Linked DNA regions of Homo sapiens: region 2 is linked to region 1. Evidence: promoter capture Hi-C in 16 types of primary human blood cells and fetal thymus (Javierre and others, 2016). All regions are on one chromosome and are shown on one strand. The core of a region is centred on a gene start or on the middle of the fragment in contact, and the rest is flanking DNA. Distances in the headings are between cores, read along the strand shown.

What was found. Contacts are between HindIII fragments. The CHiCAGO score rates a contact against its expected background, and 5 or more counts as called.
Region 2: a contact is called between a fragment that was not itself captured here and the fragment with the promoter of LYPD4 in region 1, in 1 of 17 cell types (total B cells). The highest score is 5.9, in total B cells.

Annotation. Positions count from the first base shown.
Region 1 is chr19:41,843,412-41,846,111 of GRCh38, forward strand. LYPD4 (LY6/PLAUR domain containing 4) reads right to left here and starts at 1,272. Exons shown (of 5, transcript NM_173506.7): 1 at 167-1,272. DMRTC2 (DMRT like family C2) reads left to right here and starts at 1,631. Exons shown (of 9, transcript NM_001040283.3): 1 at 1,631-1,690. The HindIII fragment of the contact is 15,469 bases long and covers 1-2,700 here.
Region 2 is chr19:42,434,406-42,437,105 of GRCh38, forward strand. The region is part of intron 1 of CXCL17 (C-X-C motif chemokine ligand 17); the gene reads right to left. The region is part of intron 1 of LIPE-AS1 (LIPE antisense RNA 1); the gene reads left to right. Among named protein-coding and RNA genes, the nearest start is that of CXCL17, 7.2 kb to the right of the region's middle. The HindIII fragment of the contact is 3,149 bases long and covers 1-2,700 here.

The DNA of each region.
Region 1 (2,700 bases), core at 22-2,521:
TTTATAATCGTTGGTTACCCTGTTCCTCTACCACTATCCCTCCCTCCCACACACACTTCCTCTCACTCTCTCTCCACTACCTAAAGGATCAAGTTCAACCTCTTTAGCTGGCCTTTAAGCCTCCCCCGACCACACCCCACCCCACCCCAGATAAGCGCCACCCAACCTTTCCAATTTTATCTAGGACAGCTCCCCTGCCCAGCAGTCCAGCTAGAGGTCACGTCGGCCACCCTTTTCTGCCTGCAATGCCTCAGACACACATGCTCTGTAACCCAGAAATCTGTGGCCAAGAAAGGTGCCAAGACCCGCAGAAAAGCTGGGACACAGGAAAGAGAAACGAAGGCTGACAACAGATCTCACGGGGGTGAGGGAGATTAGGCCAATCAGAGAAGACAGCACACGCCAGCCTCAGATGCAGAACAACTGGACCTGGACCTAACAAGCTGAGTACAAGTGGAGACGCAACCAGAAAAGATTGAAGTGAAATCCTCAAGCAAAAAAAAAAAAAAAAAAAAAAAAAAAAAGGATGGAGCAGTAGTCAGAGGGGATGCCACCCCTACAAAAGACAAACAAATTGATGGAATGGAACCTTGCAGGGAGAGAGAGGACCAGCAGAGAGAGGGAGGCGTAGGAAAATGAGGAGTGGGGCACAAAGGTGGGGCTCTCAGGGAGAAGAGGAGTCGATTTTAGAGGGGGAGAAGAAAAGGACACAGAGCTGGCTGTACAGAGAAAAGGGGCCAAGGCAGAGAAGATGGCGGGATGGTGTGAGACGGAGTTCACAGAAATACCCAGAGAAGGCGACGATTACACAGAGGAGCCCCCAGAGGGGCGAACTCTTGAGGAAGATGAACGCGGAGGGTGGAGCCAGCCAGAAATTCAGAAAAACTAGAGGCGTCCCCGGTAGCGAAGGAAGCCGGGAAGGGGCCAGGCTATCAGGGCATGAAGCACGGGAGAAAATGGGTCCGAAGAGGGAGAGCGTCCGAGAGAAAAGGAAAATCAGAGATTAGGAAAATCACAACCGACACAAAGACAAGAAGAGACACAAGGAAAGGGGTGCAATCTGAGGAAGGAGGGCCCGGTAAGCAACCCGGTAATCACAGCGCTGGGAGAGAACGCATAAAAGAAGGGTAGCTCAGGAGTTGTGGGGCACCGGAAGAGACATAACAGAAAACGCAGGCCTCCACTCAGCAAAAACAAGCCACGCGCGAAGTCGAGGTACAAGGCAAGGGAAGGCCAGAAACGAGGCAACCCGTGCACAGACCGGGCTTGGTCAACGCCCCAGGGGCGGGGCCAGGCGGGCCGTTCCTGGGGGGCGGGGCCAGCCTCGGTCCAATAAGGGGTACTCGACGCCCCATTGGCCACCTGCCTCGAAAGGGGGAAGACAGTCTGGGCGGGCAGGACGTGCGGAGGGAGAGGCAGCGGTGGCGCGAGGCTCAACTCGAAGCGCTATTGGTGGGACTGATAGTCTTGTGCGCCAAGAAGCTGGCAGAAGGGAAGGGGCGGGACATCAGTTCAGGATCTCAAACCGCATTGGTCGTCTGCCTCGGCTGAGAGAGGCGATGCTTGAAGTTCATTGGTCTTTGTGAGACAGGGTAAGAAAAGCAGCGCGAGCTTGGCGGTTCCTCTGGCCACTTTCTCACAGTGTCTTTGGGCGTCTTCTTGACTGAATCTGACTCCATTGGAGGCTGTGGTAACCGTGAACTAGCTGCACGAACACGGTCCCTCCTGCCTTTCCGTCCTCCTCCCTCTTAGCCGGACTCCCTAACCCAGGCATCCCCTCTCCTCCCCCTCGCGCCCCTCCCGCCCTCGCGCCCCCTCTCCCCTTCCCTGCCTCGCGGGCCCCTTGGCGCGTTCCCGGTTCCCCACTCGCTCCCTGGGGCACGGGAAGGGGGGAGGGGGACATGCATGAAATTAATTGTTGGTAGTGGCCACAGGAGCAGGAAGCGCTGGACACAGTGACTTCACATGTTTACACAAAAACCTGAATAAGGTGTGAGCGCAAGAGAGACATTAGTGCCCCAAGGAGAAGGTTTTTGGCCCAGATCAGGGCCTAGCACATGACAGGGGCTCAGTAACCATTTGTGGAATGAATGAAGGAGTGAAGGAAAATAACTTGAAAGTGGGGCAGGTGGCGGGTGCGGTGGCTCATGCCTGTAATCCCAACACTTTGGGAGGCCGAAGCAGGCAGGTCGCTTGAGGCAGGTCAGGAGTTCAAGACCAGCCTGGCCAACATGGTGAAACCCCATCTCTACTAAAAATACAAAAATTAGACGGGCGTGGTGGCACAGGCCTGTAATCCCAGGTACTCGGGAGGCTGAGGCAGGAGAATTGCTTGAACCCAGGAGGCGGAGGTTGCAGTGAGCCGGGATTGCACTACTGCACTACAGCCTGGGCTACAGAGTGAGACTCCATCTCAAAACAAAAAAAAAGAAAGAAAGAAAGTGGGACAGGGGAGCCAAGCATAGTGGCTCCAGCCTGTAGTCCCAGCTACTGGGGAGGCTGCGGCAGGAGGATTGCTTGAGCTCAGGAGGTGGAGGCTGCAGTGAGCCATGATCACGCCACTGCGCTCCAGCCTGGGCAACAGAGCGAGACCCTGTCAATAAAAAAAAAAAGAAAGTGGAGCAGGGAATCCATGAGAATAAGGTAATTATTGGGGGTGCAAGAGAGGGTTCTGATTTAAAGGGGTACAAGAACAAAATA
Region 2 (2,700 bases), core at 152-2,651, 590 kb after region 1:
CCTCCAAGTTGCTGGGTTTTTTGTTTGTTTGTTTGTTTTTTGAGACAGAGTCTCACTCTGTCATCCAGGCTGGAGTGTAGTGGTGCAATCACGGCTCACTGCAGCCTTGACCTCCTGGGTTTGGTTGGTCCTCCCATCTCAGCCTCCTGGGTAGCTGAGGCTTCAGGCATGCACCACCACTCCTGGCTAGTTTTTTGTATTTTTTGTAAAGATAGGGTTTTGCCAAGTTGCCCAGGTTGGTCTGGAGCTCATGGGCGTAAGCGATCCGCCTGTCTTGGCCTCCCAAAGTGCTGTGATTATAGGCATGAGCCACCACACCCACCCCAAGTAGCTGTATTTGAATCCAGAGTCCCAGTTCAACTATTAAACGATGGTATTTACCTTTGTTCCTCTGGAACAAATACATTCTTCTTTTGGCCTTTATCCGAGCCTGTTTTATTTTCCGATTCTATCTTATCTCCATTTTTTGATACTTAAAATATTCCTATGACAGGCTGGGCACGGTGGCTCATGCCTGGAATCCCAGCACTTTGGGAGGCTGAGGCAGGCGGATCATGAGGTCAGGAGGTCAAGACCATCCTGGCTAACATGGTGAAACCCCGTCTCTACTAAAAATACAAAAAATTAGGCGGGCGTGGTGGCGGGCGCCTGTAGTCCCAGCTACTCGGGAGGCTGAGGCAGGAGAATCTCTTGACCCCAGGAGGCGGAAGTTGCAGTGAGCTGAGATCGTACCATTGTACTCCATCCTGGGCGACAGAGCGAGACACGGTCTCAAAAAAAAAAAAAAAATTCCTAAGACAATCAAGAATGATGGTTTATAGACTTGAGATTCTCAAGTAAGAGCTTGGCTCAGATGACACTTCCTTTATGGTAGTTTCTGATATTTCCTGTCAACATGAATTATACCTTCATATGGTTCCCATTGTTGTTGAATGCAGTTCTGTTATTGCACTGTAATGTTGTTGTTTGAAATCTTTTATGGACTGAATTGTGTCTCCCGAAATTCACATGTTGAATCCATAACCCCCAGTACCTCAGAATGACTGTATATGGAGATAGGACCTTTAAAGAGGTGATTAAAATCAGGCTGTTATGGTGGGCCCTACACCAGTCTGCCTGGTGTCCTTATAAGAAAAGGAGATTTGGGCTGGGCGCGGTGGCTCATGCCTATAATCTCAGCAATTTGGGAGGCCGAGGTGGGTGAATCACAGGTCAGGAGTTTGAGACCAGCCTGGCCAACATAGTGAAACCCTGTCTTTACTAAAAATACAAAAATGAGCAGGGCATGGTGGCGCGTGCCTGTAGTCCCAGCTACTTGGAAGGCTGAGGCAGGAGAATTGCTTGAACCCGGGAGGCAAAGGTTGCAGTGAGCTGAGATCATACCATTGCACTCCAGCATGGGCAACAAAGCAAGACTTTGTCTAAAAAAAAAAAAAAAAAGTAGGGGGGATCCTAGAGAGCTCTTTCATTCTCTTTCCACCTCTTGAAGATAAGAGGAGAAGTCCACTGTCTGCAACCTGGAAGAGGACCCTTGCCAGAACCCAGCTGTGCTGGCACCCTGATTTCATATATCCAGCCTGCAGAACTGTGAGGAATAAATTTCTCTTGTTTATGCCACCCAGTCTGTGGTATTGTGTTATGGCATTCCTAGCAAACTAAAATAAAATATTTCTCCTTCACTAGACTCTGAACCATTGGTTCAGTAGTCATTCAGGTACGTGGTTCCTAACACATGGTAGGCATTTGGCAAATGTTTGTTCAACACGTGGATGGATAAGTTGTTTGGAGAGGACCCTTAGAGATCATATGGTTCAATTCAGGCCTCCTACTTCCCAGACTTCTGCCACACAGATGGAGGGGGTTGCGTCATTTCCCCAAGGGCTGCTTTTCCAATGTTCTCATGTGCTGTTTTGAGTGTTATCAAAGTAATTTAAGCAGGCATAGGTCCTGCCATTTAAACTTTTCTAACATTTTTACTCTTGCCTGACCTCTACTCCTAGTTCCAGAGAAAAACCACAGAATATTAGACCTTGAAGGAAATCCCAGAGATTATTTAATTGAATTCCTTAATTCTGAAGTTTTTTTTTTTTTCAGTCTAAATGTAATTTAACTGTTGGAGAAAATTTTGAAAGTACAAACAGAGAAATTATTATTCTTACCAACTGTTGGTATTTTGGCATATTTGTTACCTACATATGCTTTTTATTAATATAGTGATAACCATAGCATGTAAACACATTCTCTTTTTCCATTCATAGGCATGTTGCTGTGTCATCTTCATAACACATTTTTAATGAATGCATAATACTCTCAATAATTATGTGTTCCAAATTATTTAACTGCTTTCCCATTGCTGAATATTTAGAAAGTTTTATTTTTTAGATGTTGGTAAATTTCTTTGTTCTTGTAACTGTTTTCCAAATTTTAGATTATTTTCTTGAGAGAGAGTTCCCAAAGTGGAATTACTGGGTCAAAAGTTAAGAATTGCTTTCAGAAGAGCTATACTAATGTTTAAATTTTTTTTCATTTAATTATTTATTTATTTTTTTTGAGACGGAGTCTCACTCTGTCGCCCAGGCTGGAGTGCAGTGTTGTGATCTCGGCTCACTGCAACCTCTGCCTCTCGGGTTCAAGCAATTCTCCTTCCTCAGCCTCCCAAGTAGCTGGGATTACAGGCACCCACCACCATGCCTGGCTAAT